Linked DNA regions of Homo sapiens: regions 1, 3 and 4 are each linked to region 2. Evidence: promoter capture Hi-C in 16 types of primary human blood cells and fetal thymus (Javierre and others, 2016). All regions are on one chromosome and are shown on one strand. Each heading gives the region's core, a stretch centred on a gene start or on the middle of the fragment in contact. The rest is flanking DNA. Distances are from core to core; before and after follow the strand shown.

Region 1 (2,700 bases), core at 9-2,508, 1.2 Mb after region 2:
TAAGCGATGAATTTTAGGACGTTCTTCCCTCTACTTCCAACGTCCACAAGAATAAACCACCAAATTCAACGTTTTACAGAGGCCAAGTGCTTAGGTTTTGTGTGTTTGTTTTTAAGAGTTTTCTTGCAAGGAAACTGGGAGGGAACTATAAAAGGGCTTTAGGCAAACAGGGTGGGCGGGTGCAGGGCTTTAAGCTGCAGAAAGGAGAATCTGGAAAGAGCTTTTAGGAAGCAGATTCTCACATGTTTTAATATGAAAGAGTGGCACACGTGGTGCTGGCATTCCATCTTACCATCAGTGGAAGGTTTGAACCAACATCAAATTTTTCTGGAGCAACTTAGGTAATTATTACTTGAAGAATATGCATTTCAAAACTAACACCTTTAAGAGACAATGTAATTCACCTGCGCTTCCCCGCCCCCCCCGCCCGCGCCAACCCCACCCCCCGCCAACCCCGCCCCCGACTCCGCGAACGCCGAGGGGCCCGTGGTCTGCCTGAGTGACCTCCATTTGCTCTGTCATCTCAGGACTAGAAGCCATCAGCCAGCGTACGCCCTCAGAAAACTCTCTTCCCTTCTCGCGGGTCCGCCTGGCTCCCGGAGGCGGCGGTGCCAGGCTGCCGGAGTTAGCCAGCGGCAGGCTGCGGGCGCCCGTCCCTCCGGTTCACCCTTTCACCCCTCCTTCACCCCCGGAGCGCCAGGCGGGTGCCGCGGGTTTTCCGCCCACTCGGAAGGCAGTGCTGGCGAGACCAGGAATTGCAGGGCCTCTCCGCTTTGGCGAGCTCTGGAATCCGAGTCCTCCCCACCCCAGCCACTCTGCTGGGGCGCTAGGGGCTCGAAAAAGCCTGGGGTTGGCTGAAAGACACTCGGATTAGAGACGCAGCCAGCCTCCAGGGAGGTCTGAACTTGTCTTCGACCTCCCCGAACCCCTCCGCCTCTGCGCTGGGAGACGCCCAGCAGCCGGGCGGGCCCGGGACGTGTAGAGCCAGAGCACTCCGCAGCGGAGGCAGCGCGCGGCACGGCCGCCCGGGGCATCCCCGCGGCTGGGGGGCGGAAGGCGAGGGCGGTGGCAGGAAGGGTCCGCCAGGCCTGAGCTCGCTCCCCCACTGCCAGCCGCCGGCTCGGAGGCCCGAGCCGTGCGGACGGAAAGGGGCGGAGCCGCGGGCTCTGGTTGGTGTGGGCTCGGGGGCGGGGCGCGCGGGGCCGGGCCGGAGGCGGGGCTAGCGCCGGGCGCTGGAGCTGCGGGCGCACGGAGAGGAGTCGCCAGCAGCTGGAGCGGAGTTGGAGGAAGCAGCGGCAGCGGCGAGGGCGGCAGGCTAGCTGTCGGAGACGGCAAGCACGGATCGGGCACGGCCGGCGGGTCGCAGCCGGGCTGGAGGCCGGTCGGAACCGAGCGGGCAGGAGGCCACCGCTGCAGCGCGGGCCCCGCAGAGGAAGGAAGCCGGCGGGCGGGGTAGGTAGGCAGCAGCAGCCCCGGGTGTGTGTGCTCGGGCGGGGGAGGCGGTGCATGTGTGCACGGCTGCCGCGACTCTCTTCCTGTCACTGGCAGCGGCTTCTCCTTCTGCAGAGCCCCGCCGGGGGGAAGCGGGCTGGCCACCGGCCCTCCCCGCCTCCGGCATCTCCTGGCCGCCGGGCAGCACTACCCCCGCGCGCGGCCGGCGTCCTGTGAGATCCCCGCCATCCTGACTCCCGTTTCCCCCGTCCTCCTGCGAGCTGGTCCTGCACGCCGCCGGTCGCATTTGCCCCCGGAGTTGCCGACGAGCTCGGGCTTCCTCCCACCCTCCGTCACCGCACACTTCGGAGGGTCCCCGCTGTCGCCTTGCTGCAGTTTTCCGGGGCCCCTCACCGGAGGAGAGCGCCCTGGCCGCTGCCTTCGTGTTGCGGGAAGGAGCGCTCCCTTCCCCCGTGGCCCTCCAGCTGCAGCCAGGGTCGCTGCCCGGGCCCTTCCCGGGGCGGGCGAGGCGGCGGTGGTCCCCGGAGCTCGTCCCCTAACCCCCGCCTTCCGAAGTTTGCCGCCCTCCTCTTCCGGGGTGGGGGAAGTGCGCCTCGGGGCGGTTGGTCGCTGGGGCCCTAACTCAGCGTTTATTGCCAGCCAAGCTTGGGCAGGTTGTTGGAGGCATATTTAGTGGGGTCTTGGAACCGCCCGGAAATCCAGCTTTTGGAACGTGGGGCGAGGCGGGAGGGACCTGCCCAGCAATATGGAGCCGGCTGGGGAGAGCCAGGGAGCCTGCAACCCGGAGCTAAAATATCGTGGGCAATTCTCTGGAAACCACAGCTCTAACCTAAGCTCAGAAACTGCCCCTCAGATCACAAGACAAAGAGAACAGAAAACCTCTGGCCAGGCACTCCTGTACAGAAATACACTTTGATAACCAGAATTGGAGCCTGAAATGCAAGGATATATGCAGAATGGCTGTTACGTGTTGAATGCAGAATGTGTGTCAACTGGGTTTGGGGGAATTCTTCTGTTTCCCGGGGCGCTATTAATATCGGAAAGGTCTCACTTCCACCGTTAATCCCTTGAGCTGCAGCGCTGTTGGTGTCCGAGTGTGAGTCTGCTCTTTATTTGGGGGCTTCATGATTTTAGGTTTTTTTTCTTTTTTCTCTTCTTTTCCTCTTTGTCAGCCAGTGCGAAGTACCAATGGATAAAGCAGTTCCGGGTTTTGAATGCAACATAAGATTGTCATTTTGGTGTGATGAG
Region 2 (2,700 bases), core at 185-2,684:
TGGTCCTATTATGGACCCCATATTGCAGCTGGGGAAAATGAGAAGAGATTTAAGGTCATAGTAAGTGTTGTATCCAGAATTCAGACCCAAAATTTTTGCTCTAAACCAGTGCTCTGTATCACCCCTCTCAGAGAAGCCTTTATCTGGAGCAGTGGTTCCCAACCAGGGGTGATTTTACCTCCCAAGGGACATTTGGCAATGTCCTCAGACATTTTTAATTGTCAGCACTGGCATCTAGTAGGTCGAGGTCAGCAATGTTGCTAAACATCCTCCAATGCTCAAGAAAGCTCCTCAGACAAAGAATTATCCAGCCTATGTCAACAGTGCTGAGGTCTAGAAACTGCTCCGGAGCACAGGGACACTCTTTTGTGTCAGCCTTCAAAACATCTTTTGCAATACTTAGAAACATTTTTTAAAAGAAGAGCATGGGGCAAAAATGCTGGACCAAGCTCATTAATATCTATTGAAGTGTGTTTTGTCATTTAGTGTCCCTGAATGTTTGGGATAAAGTCCCAAATGTAAAATTGAGAAAATAATGCCTTCTTTGTCTACCTCTGTGGGTTGCAAGGATCTGTGGAGGCTCTGTAAGAATGTGAGGAGATAACGCATACGAAAGCCTTGGACATGAAACATCATCCAAAACTCTTGGAGTCCTTGGTGTGAAAATATTAATGTGGGCCACAAGAATTAGATAAAGAAGATCCCACAGCAGGCTTCTTTTTGTTTACCCCGCCTACCTTGTCAGCTTACACCCCCTCTTCCTTCTCTTTATCCTCCCATTTTTGTAAGCGAGTTTGTTCCTGGTATTTACTGCATGGACTAAGCCATTTTTAGATGTATTTTTTGCTGAATATATACTTTTTTGATTTAGTATTTCTTGCCATATTACACCAGACTTAAGGCAGCTAATTTAAATTATATTTTTTCTTTATGTACTTTATACAAACATTCATGGATAGGGGGAGATATTTAAATACCATGCCTTTCTTCAAAATGAATAACAAGAACATTCAGCCCCCTTCATTCTGCCCTTTCAAGGTCTAACGTACTTGAAGGGGCAATACTTGTAGCATTTGCCACATAAATGCCAGGTAGTGTCTTTCCACATCGGGGCTCACCATTACCTAGATCTGTAGTTGCCGGCCATGAAGCCAAACAGGTGTGCACCGTGGTCATTGATGGAACAGATGTAAACTCATAAATTTAGTTTACTGAGGTTTTCGGTGAGTGTGGCTTCCCGTCCGCGTGCTTTTCCTATACAACCAGCGGCGTCCTGGCGGAGGAGTCACTGTGGACTTCCCCGGAGCGTTGTCACTGCCATCCCTCCCGCGGTGAATCACAGGTCGGCCTCAGGTGCGCGCAGCACACACCCGGAGCAGCCGCGGGTTTATTTATTTATTTCCGGGACGGATCCATTCCGGGCTCCGGGGAGGGGGAGCGGCGGCCCAGGCTGCGGGGCTGTCCCGGCACCGGCTGGGGTCGCGCCGCGGCCGCCTGCTCCCTTTCCCGTGAGCCCCCGCTCCTCAGGCGCGGCCGGGGCTGGTGGGGGGTGGGGGATGCAGGAAAGCTGGGGGCGCGGCCACCAAGCTGTCCAGGGACAAGGCCCTGCCGCCTCCTCCCAGCCGGACCCTGGAAGGGTCCACAAAGGTGTCAGGTTCAAGTCCTCCAATAGGCCCATTTTTTAAAAGTGCTTTTAAGTTTCCGCTTTTTTCAGGAGGGGAGGGCAAGAGCAGCTTTTTCTATTCAAATTCTTTTCCTTGTATGTAGATACCAAAAGGAAACTCGGCACTGGGCATGTTCGGATGTGAATGGTTTTGCTGATAAGCAACAGCCTCCGGAACCAAAGCCTCAAAATAGTCGTCTCCCCCGCCCCTCGCAGAAGCGGCGAGTGGTATCTGCCAAACAGATGACAAAGTACCTCCGACTGAATCCCACAGACAGCGCTTTGAGCAGAACGCACGGCTCAACTCATGTAATTACTGTTTATAGCTGGCCGAGCCTGACTAGGAGAGGGCAGACCCGAGAGGAAATCAGTTTCCCGGACCTTTGAGAGGAGGCTGTGTGTTAATTAAAGGCTAGGACGGGACGGGTACTTCTCAGACATGCTCCAAGTTGTTCTTGAGATCACAGTTCCCATCACATTTTCTCTGGAGGGAGTGAGTAGATAATTGGGATTTTTTTTTTATTTTTGGCCTTGTCTTTCTTCCTTTTTTTTACCTCTCCCCATTTTAGTCATATGGCCTTGAACCCACAGTGAATTGAAGAGAGAAAGAAATGGATATGTCTGACCCCAATTTTTGGACTGTGCTCTCAAACTTTACTTTGCCTCATTTGAGGAGTGGGAACAGGCTTCGGCGAACACAAAGGTAAAAACGCGGGGATCTCTGCCTGGAGAGGGAATGCTTTCACTTCCCAGGGGCCCACAGGCGGAGCTGCCTGAGCCCCTCAGGAGCTGGGGTTTTGTGTATTGGGTGACACTTTGAAAAGTTTATGCCCCGCTAGGGGAGGGGGTACTGTTTCAGGTATTTCTTCGTCCTTGTGGTTTCCTGGGTAACCCTGATAAATGTGCTTCTCATAGGTTTTCTCCTTTTGAAATGTGGATAATAAGACATTTCCTTGTGAGAGGTGGGGGAGAAAAAGGGAAAGAGGAGGAGATACTTTGTCTAAGTCTGTCCCTTTGACCTGATCATGTTTATCCAT
Region 3 (2,706 bases), core at 193-2,692, 1.2 Mb after region 2:
CCCCCGCCAGGTTCAAGTGATTCTCCTGCCTCAGCCTCCCGAGTAGCTGGGATTACAGGCGCAGGCCACCATGCCCAGGTAATTTTTGTATTTTTAGGAGAGAGGGGGGTTTCTCCATGTTTACCAGGCTGGTCCCGAACTCCTGACCTCAGGTGATACACCCGCCTTGGCCTCCCAAAGTGCTGTGATTACAGGCATGAGCTACCACGCCTGGCCGGTGCTGAATTTTAATTCCTCAACCAGCTGGGCTACCCTCGGTAATACCCTCAGTAATCATTACCCTCCCCATCACGAACTGCTCACTTGATCACTCAACACATAGAGAGTCTCCTTCATTCCCAATGTAGAATAGAGAGCAGAGATAACAGTGGAGAGTAAAGGCAACATGGTCCCTGCCCTCACGGAGTTTATACTCTAGTGGGGAAGACAAACATTATTCAAAGAGTTACATATAAATATAAAACTATACTGTGACAAATGCCACAAGGAAAAGGTGCAGAGTTTGATGACCCCAGGACCTGGAATTTACCTAGTCAGAGAGATCAAGGAAGGCTTCCCTAAGGAAGTGGTGCAGAGCTGAGATCGGAAGAAGCAGGGATGTTCTCCACAGAAAGAACATGCTCAGAAGCCCAGTCAGCAGCAGGAAGGAGTGTGGTGATTTTGAGGAACCGAAAGAAGACCAGCATGGCTGGAGAACAGAGGATGGGGGTGTGATATGTGACGAGCGAAGAGAAGTAAGCGGGGGCAAGATTGTGTAAGCCTGTGATCAGGATTCTGGCCTGTATGCCTAGAGCAGTTATTTTCAACTTCGGCTACATGTCAGAACCACCTACAAAGCATTTTAAAATACTGATTAAAGGATCCCATTCCAGAACCATCAAATCCAAACTTCTGGAAGTGAGAACCAGGCATAAGTATTTTTTTTAAAGCTTTCAGGTGATTTTATCATGAAAACAAGGGTGAGAATCATTGACCTATAGCAATGAGAAGTCACTAAAATGTTTGAAGATAATATGTATGCTATGAATCTTTAGAGGGAGTTGGAAGCCATTTCCAGATTTACATTTCAAAAAGCATCCTCTGGCTAGAACCATGGAGTTATCAATGCTAGTGATTGAGAGTTCAAAAAGGAGACCAATTCAGTGACAACTATTTTTTTATTTTTATTTTTTTGAGATGGAGTTTCCCTCTTGTCATCCAGTCTGGAGTGCAATCTCACAATCTCGGCTCACTGCAACCTCTGCCTCCTTGGTTCAAGTGATTCTCCTGCCTCAGCCTCCCAAGTAGCTGGGATTACAGGCGCCTGCCACCACGCCCAGCTAGTTTTCACATTTTTAGTAGAGATGGGGTTTCGCCATGTTGGCCAGGCTGGTCTCAAACTCCTGACCTCAGGTTATCCACCCGCCTCGGCCTCCCAAAGTGCTGGGATTATAGACATGAGCCACTGTGTCTAGCCAGTGACTGCTATTGATAAATGGTGCAGGTGAGGATTAGGGTAGCATCAACGGAGATGAAAAACATACATATATTTACAAGATTTTTAGTTGGTTAAAACACTGAGACTGGCAGAATGATGAAATGATGGATTCTATAATGGGAAAAAAGAGAGCAAATGACTATCAGTGTTCTGCTCACACAAGATGGATAATTGTGCCACTTGTTGATACAGGGACGAGGACTAGAATCAGAAATGTTTAGAGTGAGGGTACGTTTTCATTTGGGCATGTGAGGTTTGCTTTCATTTTGTCATGCATGTTCTTTACCTCTCTTTTCTGTAGGTCACCCGTACTTCATTTACCAGTCCTTGCTAAGGATTATTCATTAAAACACACAACAGCAACAATAACCACAAAAGCAACAATAAAAATACCTTTGAACTCACTCAATCTTGAACTATTGAACATGCTAAGTCCGTGTCATTGGCCTACTTAATCAGCCCTCGATTGTAACTTGAAGAAGCTTATTGATAAGAAAATAAACTTCTCATAAAGTATAACTACTTTCTTAGCAAAACTATTTGTTTCATCTTCTCTTTAAAATTTTTGATATTATGTATTTCCTTTTTTTTTTTTTTTTTTGGAGACAGAGTCTTACTCTGTCACCTGGGCTGGAGTGCAGTAGTGTTATCTCGGCTCAATGCAACCTCCGTCTCCTGGGTTCAAGCAATTCTCCTGCCTCAGCCTGCCGAGTAGCTGGAATTACAAACACCCGCCACCACCCCCAGCTAATTTTTTGTATTTTTAGTGGAGACAGGGTTTCACCATGTTGGCCAGGCTGGTCTTGAATGCCTGACCTCAGGTGATCCATCCACCTCAGCCTCCCAAAGTGCTGGGATTACAGGCGTGAGCCACTGCACCCGGTCTATTATGTATTTCTGAAGATATTTAATGCCAAGTAACAGAAACCACACTCCAATGAGTTTAAACAAAAATAACATTATTATAAGAATATAAAGGTATCTTATGGAATATAAGAATAAATCTGTGGCTAGAGTTAAGGAAAAGCTAGAATCACGAACTCATGACTTCACAGTTCCCTCTCCCCAGCTCTTCTTCTCTTGTGCATCTGCTTTGTTTTTCTTTCTCTGTTCTCAGAAACTAGCTCCCATCACTTTTCTTCTTAACATGAACAAAAATATGACAAGTGACAGCTCCTGAGGTTTAAGCCCTAGAGCTCAGACATCAGAGGGAAACAATCTTAACTCTT
Region 4 (2,700 bases), core at 101-2,600, 1.1 Mb before region 2:
CCTGCGACCTGACCGTGCCATTAGAGGAAGTTGGAGTGCTGCAGCTGCAAGAGATACCTGCTGCCTTCAAATCAGGGCTGGACTCCAACAACCCCTGTGCACCGATTACTGTCGTACAAAGAAACTCCATCGGCCGGCGCGGCGGAGGCCTGTGGGCTCTCTATCTCTCTGGCTGGGCGCTGGGCCGCGAGCAGACAGCAGGGTCGGCGTTGCCAGCGTTCCCCACCCTGGGGGGCTCGGGAGTCCGGGAGTGCGGGGTCGGGGAGCGGGCAGGGAGCAGCGGGCAGGCCTCGAGGGGCCTGGGCCAGAGTGGGCCTCACGGCGCGCCTTGCACGCGAACCCACGGCCGCCGGCTGCCCCTCCCCCGGCCCCCGGCCCGCTGCCCCCAGCCGCCGACGTCGGCCCGCACCGCCCCCGCGCGCTGACTGGCCCGCGCAGGCCTCCTGCCCGGCTGTTGGCGGTTGGGGCGAAGCCGGCGGGAGGCCGCCCCGCCCCCGCCCCCGCCGCAGAGTCGCGGCGCGCAGCCTCTTCACCCGTCGCGGCCGGGGCGGTGGCGCTGTTGCCGCCGCGGCCTGTGAGGCAGTAACTCCCCTCCGCCCCTGCCCCATTCCTCCTCCTTTCTCTCCGCTCCCTCCGTCCTCCCTCCCCTCGCCGTCTCTCGCTCGAGTGAATGTGGCGCGGCGGCGCGGGACGCAGTCTCGGCCCCTGCCGCGGCCCCGCAAGCTCGTGAGGAGACGGAGCTGCCTCCTGCTCCCGCCCCCTGCGCGTCTCGGGGAGCCACCGCCGCTGGCGAAGGAGAACAAGCAGGGCAGCGGAGGGACGGTGGCGGGAAAACGGGAGAGGGAGGAGAAGAGGGTTCGAGGGCGAGTAGGGAAAGCGGGGAGGGACGGACGGAAGGACGGACGGCCCGACGGACGGCCCGGGGAGGGGGCCGCTATTGAGCCTGCCCGACTCCTCGGCTCCGGCTCCGGGTGGCGGCGGCAGCGGCGTCGCGGACGAAGGGCGCGGCAAGCGCTATCGAGACAATAACCCTGCCGCCCGGCTCTGGGGGCAACGGAGAGGAAGCGGTGGCGGCCTAGCGCGGCCGAGGCTCGCCGAGCGCCCGGGCAGCGTCCTCGCCCCCGCCGGCCGGGTGCTGCTGCCGTCCGGTGTGCCGGGCGCGCCGGTTGCCCGGAACCCGAGGCTCCCGGCGGCCGTCCCCTCCCCTCCCCCTCTCCGGTGCGCGCGGAGCTGGTTTTCCGGGTTCCCCTGGACGGAGCTGGATCCTGCTTCTCGCCAAGGCAGGAAGTGAGTTTCGCACTGCAATTCCGGGCGGTGTCACGAGTGAAAAGTTTTGTTTTTTTTTTTTTCGGCGGAGATCCTCGTTGGGGCTGGGAAACTCCTGCAAAACTCGAGACCAGGAAGCCAGCCCGCACCCCAACCCCCACCAAAGCCACCTACTCTTCTTCTGTGGGAGGCCAGTCCACATCCGCTCTCACCCGAGAGAGATATTCAGCTGGATCCAAAGTGACTGATGAAGGGAAGGAAATCATGTCAAGCGAAGCCTTGAAAAAGCTGCCCTGAGACGGTGTCCCGCCGAAAGGTAATTTTCACGAAAAGTGTCTCTGAGTCACAAAGTTCATGGGACTTTGTGACTCGGAAAAGAGATGATTCTTTAGTGTTTTTCACTCTTCTCCAAGTTGCCCTAAACCCTCCTTTTCTCATATCGAAGCGGTTAATAATTGAGGGGCTAAATAATCGAACTGCACCCCACCGCGTCCCTTCTCCCCCCTGCCCCCCCCACCATCTGGACTTTGAATTTTTTGGAAGAGGTTGTAAGAATGCGGTGGGACGAAAAGTTTTTAGTAATCCGAAGAACGATTGCCTTTGTTCAGCACAGGGGCCAGAAGTTTTGGCTTTCTGGAACGTATAGAGTGTATATTAAGTTGCTCAGCCAGGCACCTTCTGTTTGGGAAGAAAGTTTGGTCGCTGCAGTGAGTGATTTGCTGTTATTGAGATGGCTGCCGCGTTTGTTTATACTCATACCGATTATATTGGCGCTTGCGTTAATTGTATATAGAGGTATTTATTTTTATTTTTTTATTTCCAACCCTGATCAGTATATTTAGTTAGATTTTAGAAACCAAAAAATCTTGCCATTCTTAGTTGTTTTTCAGGGTGAGTAATATATTTCTTTAGTTGTGTGTAGTGTGTGTTTTTCAGACGTTTAGCGCCGTATAACTTGTTTAATTAATTGAAAGCAAGGATCGACTAGGCTTTTCTTGTAACTGATCCATTACGAAGAAAAAAGGAGTAAGGACTAAGAATAGGGAGAGATAATTAAACAACATTAACAACCTGTAAGACGTTTAATAGGACTTCTGTACAGTTCAGAACAGACGATGGGAGGGGAAGTAAAACGCTTAAAACGATTTTCAAGGGAATCACAGTGATTGTGATAAAAAGCTGTGCTTTTCGAGTAGTATGGTCTTTACATTTTTGTGTTGTCCCAAATGTTTTTGGTCGGTTCTGCATAAATAGTGATAGGTTCTGCCTACATCTGTGGGGGCAGGATTCATGAAGCATGGCAGACATTCCACCAGTCAGAGCTATGAACACTTCTGAACCAATGGGGACTAGTTTTGATAGCAGTAAACCCAAAGTTTTTTTCAGTGGTGTTTTAGTCTTTTTCTGTTTACTTTTTTTCCCGGTATTTTTGCG

The links. The method cuts DNA at HindIII sites, captures the fragments that hold promoters and counts their contacts. A CHiCAGO score of 5 or more calls a contact.
Region 1: a contact is called between the fragment with the promoter of PIK3R1 here and the fragment with the promoter of MAST4-AS1 in region 2, in 8 of 17 cell types (naive CD4 T cells, fetal thymus, non-activated CD4 T cells and 5 more). The highest score is 13.3, in naive CD4 T cells.
Region 3: a fragment that was not itself captured here is called in contact with the fragment with the promoter of MAST4-AS1 in region 2 in 1 of 17 cell types (total B cells); the score reaches 5.9 in total B cells.
Region 4: a contact is called between the fragment with the promoter of ERBIN here and the fragment with the promoter of MAST4-AS1 in region 2, in 3 of 17 cell types (total CD4 T cells, fetal thymus and non-activated CD4 T cells). The highest score is 7.0, in total CD4 T cells.

The regions. Positions count from the first base shown.
Region 1 is chr5:68,214,498-68,217,197 of GRCh38, forward strand. It overlaps PIK3R1 (phosphoinositide-3-kinase regulatory subunit 1), which reads left to right and starts at 1,259. Exons shown (of 16, transcript NM_181523.3): 1 at 1,259-1,452. RefSeq lists silencers at 436-655, 876-1,975. The HindIII fragment of the contact is 2,835 bases long and covers 1-2,094 here.
Region 2 is chr5:67,002,720-67,005,419 of GRCh38, forward strand. MAST4-AS1 (MAST4 antisense RNA 1) reads right to left here and starts at 1,435. Exons shown (of 2, transcript NR_111908.1): 1 at 1,125-1,435. The region is part of intron 4 of MAST4 (microtubule associated serine/threonine kinase family member 4); the gene reads left to right. RefSeq lists a silencer at 1,313-1,652. The HindIII fragment of the contact is 7,419 bases long and covers 1-2,700 here.
Region 3 is chr5:68,196,412-68,199,117 of GRCh38, forward strand. LINC02219 (long intergenic non-protein coding RNA 2219) reads left to right here. Exons shown (of 3, transcript NR_105003.1): 2 at 1-78; 3 at 1,779-1,996. Among named protein-coding and RNA genes, the nearest start is that of LINC02219, 7.9 kb to the left of the region's middle. The HindIII fragment of the contact is 1,030 bases long and covers 928-1,957 here.
Region 4 is chr5:65,925,225-65,927,924 of GRCh38, forward strand. ERBIN (erbb2 interacting protein) reads left to right here and starts at 1,351. Exons shown (of 26, transcript NM_001253697.2): 1 at 1,351-1,582. RefSeq lists enhancers at 1-75, 700-1,324, 1,285-1,504 and a silencer at 115-1,204. The HindIII fragment of the contact is 7,086 bases long and covers 1-2,700 here.